Linked DNA regions of Homo sapiens: region 2 is linked to region 1. The links are contacts of gene promoters, found by promoter capture Hi-C in human tissues and cell types (Jung and others, 2019). All regions are on one chromosome and are shown on one strand. Each heading gives the region's core, a stretch centred on a gene start or on the middle of the fragment in contact. The rest is flanking DNA. Distances are from core to core; before and after follow the strand shown. Region 1 holds the start of ADAMTS17 (ADAM metallopeptidase with thrombospondin type 1 motif 17). Region 2 overlaps LRRC28 (leucine rich repeat containing 28).

What was found. Contacts are between HindIII fragments. The study calls those that stand out against the background at their distance.
Region 2: a contact is called between a fragment that was not itself captured here and the fragment with the promoter of ADAMTS17 in region 1, in 1 of the 25 tissues and cell types used here (dorsolateral prefrontal cortex).

Annotation. Positions count from the first base shown.
Region 1 is chr15:100,339,838-100,346,207 of GRCh38, reverse strand. It overlaps ADAMTS17 (ADAM metallopeptidase with thrombospondin type 1 motif 17), which reads left to right and starts at 4,233. Exons shown (of 22, transcript NM_139057.4): 1 at 4,233-4,387; 2 at 4,799-5,169. The coding sequence starts at 4,309. SPATA41 (spermatogenesis associated 41) reads left to right here. Exons shown (of 2, transcript NR_028139.1): 2 at 581-1,751. RefSeq lists an enhancer at 5,381-5,899. The HindIII fragment of the contact is 7,903 bases long and covers 1-6,370 here.
Region 2 is chr15:99,267,787-99,275,201 of GRCh38, reverse strand. The region is part of intron 2 of LRRC28 (leucine rich repeat containing 28); the gene reads right to left. Among named protein-coding and RNA genes, the nearest start is that of LRRC28, 20 kb to the right of the region's middle. The HindIII fragment of the contact is 5,601 bases long and covers 2,146-7,415 here.

The DNA of each region.
Region 1 (6,370 bases), core at 2,984-5,483:
TTGAGTTTACCCAGGCCTGTAGTTCTGCATGACAACTGCAGTGAAAAGGGATAGGGGAGGGTGCTGAGCATATTGGCAAGAGTGTTTTCAGAGTCATGGGGCCTGGAATGCAAGCTGGATATGGAGGCAAGTGAAGAGAGGCTGGTGGGTTGGGAGATGCAGACTGAGAGACCTTCTGAGGTAGGAGCATTTGGACGAGCATGCTGGGAGGACAAGAAGCTGTGGTCAGAGGTGGATGTTCAAGTTTTGGAAGGTGGAACAGCTAGGGGTGATGACAAGGTGTAGGGTGTGAATTTGAGAGTGGACAGTTGGGGCAGCATAGCACAGAAGGTCACTGAAGGAGGAAATTGAGGAGCCCAGAGCCCAGGGTGGGGGATGGGAGTTGTCTATATGTGTGTCTGTTAGGGGTCGAGTTTGGCTGCATATAACAGACAACCCAAATAGCAACAGCTTAAAAGAGACAAGAGTATATTTTTTTTCTGATATAGCAAAAAGTGCAGAAGTAGACAGCTCAGGTCTGGCATGGTGACTCCAAGATGTCATCAGCAACCCAGAGTTCATTGATCTTTTTGCTTCCCAGGGGTCTGGCACTCTTCCTCATGCTTACGAGATGGCTGCTGGAATTCCAGGAATCACATGCAAATTCTAGTCAGGAGCAAAGAGGAAGAGACACAGTGAAAAGGGGTATACAGCGGCAGAAGGAAGCTCCTCAAATGAACTCTGCTAGAACTCTAGCCAGTAGCTTCTCCTTCTATCACAGTGGCCAGAACTGTGACAAGTGACCATCCTTAGGGGAAAAAAGATGCTGAGAAATGTGAATTTTGTTGCCACCTTACATTTTCAAAGGAGTTCCATTCGTAAGTACAGAACGCTCAGAGAAGAGGCAGCAGATCTAGGATATGGAGCAGCAGCTCTTAAGGGCACAGTGGGAAGGTTTCAAGACTGAGGAGGATCTTGGATTTGGGTAGGGGAAGGCAGTTCACAGTATTGTGGAGGAAATGCTGTGAAAGAGAAAGTGGAAGGCATGGAAGCTTAAACTTTTAATATGACTGGTGAATACAAGGATGAAGGGCAAAGGGAATTCAGACTCATGGTGGTCAGATTAAGACCTTCAGCGGCTCTGTCTCCCAGCCCCACATACCCACTTCCATGTTCTGCTCTTTACTGAAGCTGAAAGTCTGCAACCTTCATTCTCTGACTCCCTTACATTTTCTTAGGCTTCTTGCTAGCTTCTGCCAAAAAGAGGCCCTGGCAGGAGATTAGATGGCAGGAGGCAGAGGTAAGGATTCCATGTTAACAGGTGCTGGAAGTTGCTGGTGTGGCAATGAGAACTGGGCCCCGGTCAAGGCAGCACTACTTTGGTAGATCCAGAATCAACCATGATAACCGTGACAGTGTCTTCAACAGTGCAGCAGTAGACACAGGCCCCTGGTGCTGGAATCCAATACAGGGACAGGAGCAGCACGGAGTCACGGAACACCGTCTTGCCTTCATGTCACTTTACCATTTCTTCTTTCTCCCTCTTACTCTACCAGCTACCTGTGGAGATGTTGAACCTTTTATCTGTCGCTGTCTGCTTAGGAACAGAAGAAAAGGCAGCTGATTGCTTGACTCAGCTTTCAGCTTGATTTTTTTCCTTTGGCAGAGTGAATTGGGGTCCCAGGTGTTCATTTTCCTTTTGTAGTACCTTTCCTCAGCATGCAATTAATACAAAAAGAACAATAAACCTTAACAAAGTTTGGCTTGTATTATTCCAGACTTTCCTCTTGGATTTTATGTACACTTATCTGAATCCATGCAGATCATGTCATGTGTGTCTGTGTGTTTATACACATTTTTTTTTCGGTGTGCCTCATTCTGCAACTTGATTTTTTAAAAAATTCGATAACTGATCTTGGAGATCTGTCCATGTTGTTACATATATGAGATTTTTGTATTTCCTTTAATTAATGGTGTTCAAGTAGCCGTTTATGTAACGATGAACATTCAGGTTTTTGCAATTTTTTGCTCTTAATAAGGTGCCCTGGTGAACAAACATTCTTGTACATGTGCCAGAGTTTCTCTGGAGTAATTAACCAGCGTGGAATTACAGAGTTGTAGAATGTGTGCATTTTTAGTTTTATTAAAACTAAAAAGTAAAACTTTAATTTTACAGTTTGCCCAATTGTTCCTCAGAGTGGCTGTGCCAATTTATACTCTCCACCCCTAGGTAGGAGAGTGTCCTCTCTAATTCTTGATTTTTCTAAGCTCTTTAATTTTGGTTAGTTGGGAGATAAAATAGTATCTTTCTGTTTTAGTTTTCATGTCCCTATGGACTAATTTTAGCATTTGAGCATCTTGGATAGGTTCTTGATAGGTTGGTGATGGCTACTTCAGGCTGACTTGCGCTTGTGAGGTGGTGTGGCCCATACTCCATGGTTTTCAGTGGCAGGCCTTAGAAATGGCTCTTTTTGACAAAAAGATTCACTAAGAAACTTACTGTGATATCTTTAAAAAAATTAATATTTTGTGAGTACGTAGTAGGTGTATATGTTTACAAAATGTATATACATGAAATTTTTTGATATGGCCATACAATGAGTAATAATCCCATCAGGGTAAATGAGGTGTCCATCACCTCAATCACCAAGGTTTCTTGTGCTGCCAGAAAATGCTACTGAGCTGTCAGTCATCTGAGGTTGTTGACCTGGACAGAGGCAAGGGGGAGAAACACAGCCCCAGGCCTGGCCAAGAGCAGGACCTGTGCAGATGCCCCCAGAACTGTAGGTGCCAAGCAGTGAGGGCAGCCCCTTTTGTGGCAAGCCTCTGTGGAGGGTCACTGTTCAGCCTTGGGGTTCATTATATTTCGGGGAAGGTGGCCAGTGTTATAGATTCCTTCAGATGATATGTAATCCTGTGATGAATTTAGATTCCGAGGCTTCAAGCAGCATCCAGCGGGGAACTATAACCTTTCTGCTATGATAAAATGGAAAAGAGCAGGACAGGGAAGGGACGGGAAACCTGAGATTGGTTATGGTTACACTTAATTGTTTTTTTTGTTTTGTTTGGTTTTGTTTTGTTTTTTTGAGATGGAGTCTTGCTCTGTTGCCCAGGCTGGAGTGCAGTGGCACAATCTCGGCTCACTGCAACCTCCACCCCCCGGGTTCAAGCGATTCTTCTGCCTTAGCCTCCCGAGTAGCTGGGACTACAGGTGTGCGCCATCACGCCTGGCTAATTTTTGTATTTTTAGTAGAGACAGGGTTTCACCATATTGGCCAGGCTAGTCTGGAACCCCTGACTTCGTGACCCGCCCGCCTTGGCCTCCCAAAGTGCTGGGATTACAGGCATGAGCCTCTACAAGATGCTATTCAGCAAGCTAATGGAGTCACCTTCCCTGCAGACCTCAGTTATATTGTGGCAGGAAAGGATCAACTCATTCTGTTTCTGGGAGACTCACGTTCAAGGCTAGGCTTTGGGACTTTGTGCCTCCGTTTCCTAACCTGTAACACTGAGTCCTGCTTCCCTCGGGGCGGGGGGATCCTGCTGTTAATAAGAAGCACCAAGCCAGAAATCAGGATCACAAATTCTAGCCTCTGCTCCAACAGGAACTCTCTGGGTAACTTCAGCGTTTTTCCTTAAGCTCTCTCTCTTCCTCAGTTTTTCAGTCTGTAAGAGGGTGTGAGCATGCGTGTTGCACTGGCTCCTGTGGGATTAAAGAAGACAGGAGGTGTGAAGAGTTTGGATAAACGCCGCGGATATAGCCTTCAGGTGCTAACTCAGGTGTGCGGGAAAGTGGACTGGGAGTCTTTGCGGCCACAAACAACTAAAACCTAACTTCAGATGTAAAGATTATATGCAGTTTTGGATGAAACCGCTTGGCCGGGGCGATTTCCGCCCTACCTTCCCGGGAAACTGGGCAGCAGGCTGAGAGAGTTCCAAAATGAGGACAAGCTCTGAAGACCAGCCCCGCATCCTCCAGCTCTTCCAGGGTCCCACGGCTCCGGTCGGCTCCCGCGCGCCACCTGGTGCCGTGTCCCCGCCACTGCCCAGAAACCACGTGTAAGAAAGCGCTGACAACCTAACTACGCACTGTGGTTTCGACCCATCCCAACCAGTAGGGAAGGAGGAGGCGGGGCGGAGGAAAGCGAGGGCCCAATCCCCTCCCGCCTTCCGAGGGGAAGGCGGGGCTTGGGGTTTACCACGTTGGGTTTGTCCGCAGCGCTAATTACTTTTTCCAAAGGCTGGAGGGCTTCACTCCGGCTGGCGCCGCCGCCTAGCGCGCTCCTGCTTCGCCGCCACGGTCCGGGGGGGCTGCCGGTCCCGGGTACCATGTGTGACGGCGCCCTGCTGCCTCCGCTCGTCCTGCCCGTGCTGCTGCTGCTGGTTTGGGGACTGGACCCGGGCACAGGTAGCGCCCCCTCCCACAGCCCTCTTCACCCCGCGTCCTGCGGCTACCTTCCCTCTGCGTTCTCGCGGCGTCCTGGCGGCCCGGGGGCGGCGGCGGGACCGCTGACGGCGCCCGAGCGGAGGAGGCGCGGGCCGCGGCCGGAGTACGGGAATCGGGTGGCTCCGTGGCAGGCGCGCCGCCGCCGGGTCTCCGCTCGCCGATGCGCGGCGCCGTTCCGGGAGGTGCTCGCGCGGCTGCGCCGGAGACCCTCCCCGGGTGGCGCGGGCCAGCGTGGAGGTGCCGGGCGAGGGAAGGGAAGGCAGCGCCGGCTCCGGGTCGCGCTGTCCCCGCGCTGGCGCGGCTGGCGGCCAGCGGGAGGGCGGGCGTCCGGGCGGGCCCCGCCGCGCTGACGCGTCTCCTCTCTCCCCGCAGCTGTCGGCGACGCGGCGGCCGACGTGGAGGTGGTGCTCCCGTGGCGGGTGCGCCCCGACGACGTGCACCTGCCGCCGCTGCCCGCAGCCCCCGGGCCCCGACGGCGGCGACGCCCCCGCACGCCCCCAGCCGCCCCGCGCGCCCGGCCCGGAGAGCGCGCCCTGCTGCTGCACCTGCCGGCCTTCGGGCGCGACCTGTACCTTCAGCTGCGCCGCGACCTGCGCTTCCTGTCCCGAGGCTTCGAGGTGGAGGAGGCGGGCGCGGCCCGGCGCCGCGGCCGCCCCGCCGAGCTGTGCTTCTACTCGGGCCGTGTGCTCGGCCACCCCGGCTCCCTCGTCTCGCTCAGCGCCTGCGGCGCCGCCGGCGGCCTGGTACTGCCCGCGCCACCTCCGGGTCGGCCCGTCCGGTCTGTTGCGACGCAGAGTGGTCGCCGTGGAGGGTGGGGGTGGGGCGCCTCTGCTGGAAGTCCAGCCTCCAGGGGAACCGGAGGGAACCCCCTGCCTTTCCACCTCTCCCCATCCCCCACCCCGGCCTTCGGTACCCTCTATAGGCAAAGGGGGTGGGAGGGGCAGCATCCCAGTCCAGCGCCTCTGCAGCCCGTGGAACCCGCGCGGAGCTGGGGTTGCGTGGGGTATACGCCGCCCGCTCTAGGGAGCGCAGATCTGGCAGGGATGAAACTGTCAGGGCCCTGGACAGAGGCGCCTTGGCCCCAATGTAGAGAACACTGCATCTGCACCGCCGTGTCAAAGTGTATGTCACGGGAGTACCTGTGTACGTGTAGGTGTTATGTTCTTGGACTTGGAGGTGGGGGAGTGGGCATTCACCTCCCTTCCTTTTGAGTCTTCTCTCTGTACCTGGAACAGGAAGTTTGGAGAGGTACCCAGACAGGCCACGGCTCACCCCACTCTTCCTAGCTGAAACGTAAGAAACAGGAGAGAAAGGGTGTTTGTCTTTGCTTCCTTATACTATTAGTAGGCATTTATCTGGTGCCCACCCCCAACCAGGCCTGAGGGGTGTTTACATTGGTGATAAACCCTATTCCTGCCCCCAGGAGCTCCCTTGCTGTGGCAGTAACTTCCCTGCCCCGAAGTTCCTGGCCTGTTGCATTTGAGGCACCCGGAACAGGTGCTCCCAGGGGGAGGGGGGGTTCTTGTGTGCACTTGCCCTGCCTGCGCGCACACTTGATCATGTGGCTACACTGGCGCCCAGACGAGCACTCAGCTTCTCCATCGTGCCCCGAAAGCCGCACACATGGCCGGCAGATGGGCTGCCCCCAGCGAAGCTTGGTATGGACCCAGAGCATGAACCGCAGGGGTTCTCTGTCTTCTGTCATGACTGGCCTCTGGGGAGGCAGTTTCTGATATTAGTTTGTGTCTGTCCTTCCCAGGCACAAGAAACTGCTCCCCACACCTCCACCTTTTCTTGTGCCACCATCTAGAATTCTCCAGCCCTTACTCACAGAGTCTGTGGCGAGTCCTCGAGAATCTACGAAGCTAGAAGGCTGGGGGTGCAAGGTCTTATGTGAGACCTCTCTTTCTTCCCAGTCCTGCGGGTATCTCTGTGTGTAGTTTC
Region 2 (7,415 bases), core at 3,697-6,196, 1.1 Mb after region 1:
TAGTGGAGAAAGCCTCCTGTAAATAACTGAAAGCCAGTCTGCATACGCACACACACAAGTATATAGGCATATATATACATATAATATCTCTCTCTCTTTCTCTCACACACACATAGGGGGTTCAAATTTACACATACGAAAAGAAAGAGTCGAAAGGCTGAAGGAGCACACTGAGTCAAAACTAATTTTTTTTTCATTTACATTCAAGCTACTATAGGGTAAACTGTGTATCAATAATAATGAATCAGGAATGGCTTTTTAGAAGACATTAGGTCTGACCCGAGTTCCAAAAGACATAAATTATAAGAGGATGACATGGAATGGAGAGGAGAGTAGTTCTGTATAGCTTTCTAAGCACAAGAAGCAACATATGAAAAGCCAAAAGAGAACAAGTACAATTGGGAAACTGCAAATACAATCCATTCTGCTATAACTACATAACAGCACTCCCGAAGAAATCTTACATTTTCAAAAATCCTGTTAGAAAAACAATCATGTCAATAGAAAAACTAACGTGTTAGGTACTAGAAAGTTGACTATTTTAAATAACCAAGAAATTTTTCATAAACTTGAATTTTTAAAAATAAGCATGTGTCTTTTATAATTGAAAAAATTAAAATTGAATTTTAAGATCTGCTGTGTGCAGCATAAGCTGTTATACAATTGATTAATCAGTTATATACAATTTGAGATCTAAACACTCACTAAGACAAATGACATTAGTTTGGTATGTCTGGGCCATTAGGTATGAAGATGTGAGATTTTACAGAGAATGGCAAGGAACAGAACACTAAAGGCTTATATTTTATACTAAGGACTAGCTTTTAAAAAATCCTGAACACAATGGAAAATCACTGGTTTATTTTAAACCAGAAAATGTCATTATTAATGTCATACTGGCATACTGATGTATTTAAATACTTAGCAACAGTATCACAAACTGCTTATATATACATATCCTTCCCTTTTGTGATAACCAAGTATCATTGAATATGAATATTGTTATGAAGTCAAGGAAGCATTTTTGAATACTCACTCTTGACAGTACCATTTGTATTTCATTTTCAAATGCTGAAAGCTGTGATTCTTTTTGCCCCATATTTCTATACTGATATATGCAACAAGATCCATCATAACTAGTCATTTCTCAGATGTTCCTTGTGGATCCGTCTAAATCCCTGGAATGTTTTGTTTTTATTATCAGTATCTCCCTTGAGAATATACGCTTCCGTTTATGGGCATACATACAAAGCATCCTAGAAAAACTAGGGAACCAGTGGGTGGAGGGCCTTAATTATAGCTGTTCCTATAAAAAGGAAAGATTTGTCCAAAAAGAAATGCTGTTTGACTGTTAGACCTTCACCTAGTTTCATCTGCTAATACCAATACTATATCTGGCTAATTCACACACTCCACGGTCATTCTTTCTGGATGTCTACTTGGCTCCATCAAATAGCATTCTAATCTTTCCATGACAAACTAGTTAGTTCTTTTGAGGTGTAGCTCTACACACAATTAAGCACTGAAATAATGCTTCTGTTGCCAATAGAGCATCTCTATGTCTTTATTAACAAGTAGATACATTGTGTTTTTATTTAAAAATAAGCACATTCACTTTGAGAAAATTGCAGTTCATTAGAATAACGCCTTAAAACACACAGACACGGCCGGGCACGGTGGCTCACGCCTGTAATCTCAGCACTTTGGGAGGCCGAGGCGGGCAGATCACGAGGTCAGCAGATCAAGACCATCCTGTCTAACACGGTGAAACCCTGTCTCTACTAAAAAATACAAAAAATTAGCCGGGCGTGGTGGTGAGTGCCTGTAGTCCCAGCTACTCAGGAGGCTGAGGCAGGAAAATGGCCTGAACCCGGGAGGCAGAGCTTGCAGTGAGCCAAGATCGCGCCACTGCACTCCAGCCTGGGTGACAGAGTGAGACTCCATCTCAAAAAACAAAAACAAACAAAAAAAAACACACCACACACTTAGGAATAGATGCCCAAAACTCCTGGCAAGTAATCAGCCCTTGCACAGGCTGTGACTGACACCTACTGGTGTTCCATAATATCACTCTCTGTTTTCTAATGCCATATTTTTAGCAATGTAGCTGAGAAATGTTATACGTTTTAATTTTTACACTTCTATAATTTAGGTACAGCATATAAGAGACTAGACAACTAGAAATTAATGTCAGAATTTTTGTTACTTTGTGGGTAACTAAGCTCTAATGTTGGATTACAGAAGCCACACAAACTAGTGTATCCTAATCCATAGGATTTACAAGCTATGAAGTTTTTTAATGTTTTTAAATTTAAAATCCTGATAAAAGCAATAGTCTTAAAGTGCTTCTCAAATCTATTATTACCTTCTTTTTTCACAATTTGAAACAGAAAAGTTTATCAGATAAACATAACATGTACTCAGATACCTCCTACTAAATTACCTAGAAATTGTTTCTCTAAATCAAGCCAAGGATTCTCTTCATTAAATCTCATTTACATTATTATCTAGCTAAACAACTTTTCTTTACAATAATGAAAAAGTAAACTTCAGCAAGCACAGTTAGTATAAAACTTACCCCAAATTCTGAATCAATGATGCTTTACCATATTCTTTTAGACTCCACTTAAATGGGAATGTTTTAAAATTTTTTAACTTGGAACAAATACGTCAAATATTTTGCAAACACCACCATGTTCAATAGTATTTTCTGGTGGGCACTGTGCATTACCTACTTTCTTTCCTTCTCTTTCCGAACACCTGCTAGGACTGCACATCTTTCATCAAGCTGGCCATGGCTAAGTGACTAGCTTGGTCAGTGAAATTAAGCCAAAGAGGAAGCCTTGACAAGATTGAGTGCAAAAGACCTCACCCCTTCCACAGTGACCACCAGACGGTGGACGTTTTGTCAGCTTCATTCCTGGGCAGAGGCTCCAGGCTCTGAGAGACTAGTACAGTGTAGACAAGAAATATGTGTGCTGTTACAAGCCACTAGGACTCAGGGTTTGGCAAAACCTGCTCCATCCTGGCTTCTAACAACACATTTCAAAGAAGTCACAGATTAAATGCATTTGGGTTGTTATACAAGCTATAAAAAGCAGAAGAAAGCAGAATGAATTTGGACCACTATCTCATACCATATACAAAAATTAACTCAAAATGGATCAACAACTTAAATTTAAGAGCTAAAACCACACTTCATAGAAGAAAACATAGGAGTAAATCTCCATAATCTTAGATTTGGCAATGAATTCATAGCTATTACATCAAAAGCATGAGCAGCAACAGAAAAATAGATACACTGGCCAGGTGCAGTGGCTCAAGCCTGTAATCTCAACATTTTGGGAGGCCAAAGTGGGTGGATCATTTGAAGTCAAGAGTTCGAGACCAGCCCGACCAACATGGTCAAACCTCATCTCTACTAAAAATACAAAAAAATTAGCCGGGCGTGGTGGCATGCGCCTATAGTACCAGCTACTCTGGAGGCTGAGGCAAGAGAATCCCTTGAACCCAGGAGGGGGAGGTTGCAGTGAGCTGAGATCACGCCACTGTACTCCAGCTTGGGCAACAGAGTGAGACTCCATCTCTAAATAAATATATAAATAAATAAATAAAAGAAAAATAGGGCTGGATGCGGTGGCTCACGCCTGTAATTCCAGCACTTTGAGAGGCTGAGGCAAGTGGATCATGAGGTCAAGGGATGGAGACCATCCTGGCCAACATGGTGAAACCCCATGTCTACTAAAAATATAAACATTAGCTGGGCATGGTGGCACACACCTGTAGTCCTAGCTATTTGGGAGGCTGAGGCAGGAGAATCGCTTGAACCCAGGAGGCAGAGGTTGCAGTGAGCCAAGATGGTGCCACTGCACTCCAGCCTGGCAATAGAATGAGACTCATCTCAAAAAAAAAAAAATAGATACACTGGATGTCATCAAAATGTAAAAACTTGTGTGTATTACAGGCCACTACAAGAAAATAAAAAACACAACCTACAGAATGGGAGAAAATACTTACAAATCATATATCTGGCAAAGGTCTAGCATCCAGACTATAAAAAGAACCCTTACAATTCAACCACAAAACAACAACTCAATTAAAAAATGGGCAAAGGATCTGAACAGACATTTCTCCCAAGAAGATATGCAAATGACCAACAAGCACATGTAGAGATGCTCAACATCATTAGCATTAGGGAAATGCAAATCAAAACTACAATAAGGTGACACTTCATACCCACTATGACAGCTGTAACACTAACAAAAAAAGAAAAGTAACAAGTGTTGGCAAGAATGTGGAGAAACTGGAACCATTGTGCACTGCTGGCGGTAATGTAAAATGGCTCAGCCACTTTTTGGTGGCTCCTCAAAAGTTAAGCATAAAATTACCGTATGACCCTGTAATTCCGCTCTTATTTATATACCCAAAAGAACTGAAAACAGGTCCTTCAACATGTCCATTCATGTTCATAGCAGCACTATTCACAATAGCTAAAAAGTGGAAATAGCCCAAATGTCCATCAGTAGATGAATGGGTAAACAAATGGTGGTATAGCCATACAATGGAATCCCTACGGAATCACACACAAAAAAAGAAGTACTGATATATGCTAAAACTTGGATAAACCTTGGAAACATTTTGCTAAGTGAAAGAAGCCAGATACACAAAGTTTCATATTTTGTGATCCCATTTATATAAAATATCTAGAGTTAACCCAGAGAGAAAACAGATTGCTGGTTACCAGGGCTGGGTGTGGGAGCTGAGGGTGGGGGCGGGGCAATGGGGAGGAACTGCTTAATGGGTGAGGGGTTTTACTCTGGAGTGAACGAAATGTTTGGAACTAGACAGAGGTGGCTGCATCCACGGTGAATGTACTGAATCCTATTGTCATTTCAATAGGATTAATTTTATGTTATGTCAGTTTCACCCCAATAAATTCGTTTTCGTTTTTAAAAAGCTAATGAAGTCTTGGCACTGAAGGAATAAAAAGTACTTCATTCACAAACTACCACAACACACTTAACAAGCTTTTTAGTTGAATCAATAAGTTGATGTCATTGCTTCTGAGCAGGTACACGACATGAGTTAAATACCACGTGTCCAGATTTTTTAAAACTGTGGTAGACCTCTTTTCAACTTGTCCATTCCTTCTCCAGTATTTCCCTCCATTTTTATATATGTCATAGAGCAATATTTATCAACAGAGGAATCAGAAACCCTAGCAGGCTAATGGTACAGAATGAAGGAACCAGCATTCTTTCTTCTTCCCCAGTAGCATAAATGCCTTCAGGGTCCTAGTTACCATTACCTTTGTCTCTTGACTCACTTCATAATAATTACTCATTTTCCTTTGTTTCTCTCTCTGCCATGATGGAAACATTATCTGTGTTGTCCAATATGGCAGACACTAGCCACATGTGGCTATGAAGCACTTAAAATGTGGCTATGTGATGGAGGAACTGAATTTTTAATATTATTTTACTTTAATTTAAATGTTAAGGCCAGGCATGGTAGCTCACACCTGTAATCCTAACACTTTGGGAGGCTGAGGGAGGTGGATTACCTGAGGTCAGGAATTCAAGACCAGCCCGGCCAACATGGTGAAACCCGTCTCTACTAAAAACACAAAAATTAGCTGGGCGTGATGGCGGGTGCCTGTAATCCCAGCTACTCGGGAGGATGAGGCAGGAGAATCACTTGAACCTGAGAGGCAGAGGTTGCAGTAAGCTGAGTTCGTGCCACTGCACTCCAGCCTGGGTGAAAACTCTGTCTCCAAAAAAAAAAAAAGTTAACAGCACATGTGGCTGGTAAAGTGTGCAGAATTCATACCTTCATATTCACTACTGATTTTTCACTTAAACTCAGCTCTTTCAAATGTAAAACATGAAGAATAACTACTTAACTGTAAGAATGATAAATGTTTTAGATTATTTTTCTTAGAAATAAATGAAAGTATTTGCTTAGCATTTGTAGAAATTAAAATTGTCATCTTAAGAAATGTAAATGAAAATATTTTAAGTATCTTCAAATCTACAAATGTTTTCTGGCAAAAAATGTAAAACAAACATCAAGACTGATATTTTTAACTTAGCAAAAACTTACAGAATGAGCTCAAAATAAAAAAAACTATACATCCAGTACATTTACAAAAATACAATGTTTCTGAATTTGATAGAAATTTGATTGCCAAGAAAAGATTTTTCAAAAGAAAAAACAGGCATTAAAAATTGCTGAAATGCCTCTTGAAGTGTTTATCTTAATATTTGTTAAAACTTTAAGTTATGTAAATGTCGGAAACAAGGGTTGGAGGTTACAAGCATCAAGTGTCTTCTCCAGCTTTTTATTTTTAAAAAAACCTATTTAATAAACATGCCATAAGTATGATTTTATAAATGCAATTTTCAAAGCAATATAAAAATACACACAAAAATAGAATACCAAACACATTCCCATTAAGCCAGATCAATGATTTAAGATTACACCTAGCTTGAACAATTCTGTAAGTTTATGACATAACTGTTTGGTTTTGCGGGGGTGGGGTGGGGAGCATGTTCCAAGATCCGTGTACAAGTGCCTTACTTACATAACGTATGTATTTGTTGACTGATTCGATGGGACTAACAGTTAGGCACTGGTGTCTCACTTCCAGTACACAGGTGCCTCATTAAAGTGAATGCCTGAAAAATGAATTTAAACTTGTGGAAACATACATACACCAATGGTTTTGAGTCTTTTGCTTGCAAATAACACCCTTCGAGTACACAAGATAATGGTCTGTTCTAAGAAAAGACCCCTAGCCCTGCCACCTCTTTCTAAACTGTCCCCCTCCTAACTCCCTAGGCAGAAACTACAAATTACAGGGTATATGCTAAGTCAGGTTCCCTACATTTCATTTAAAAAGCAAAGAATGATACATGTTTAAAAATATTTCTATTAAGCTAGACTTTTATTCACAGGAAAACTCAGACACAGACTTTACAAAAATTAACTGGGAAAATTCACTTAACATGCAGCACTTCATTTCTCCACAGTCGATAAACGTGGTTAAATTTTAACGACATGGTGGTGCTAGGCTAGGAAGAGGTTATCAATAAATATCTACAGAATTAAAATGAAGCAAAACTAACTGGACCACAAATTAGGAGACCTTATTTTTGCACTGAAAAGTGACTTTAGAACCAGCCATTATCCTCTTCTTAGTTTCCTCAAAAAGAAAAATTGTCTAAATTATAAATAAAGCTTCTAGCTTTAAAATCCTATGACTCCATAAATAGAGTTAAGTTATGGAACAGACGTTCATTTTCCTGAAAAATGAAAGTCATTATGACATGTGAGAGGCTTGAGTTTCTTAATTATTTGACAAGGAATCACCGTTTCACATTACTGACAAGGAATCAGTAACAATGACAGAAAAG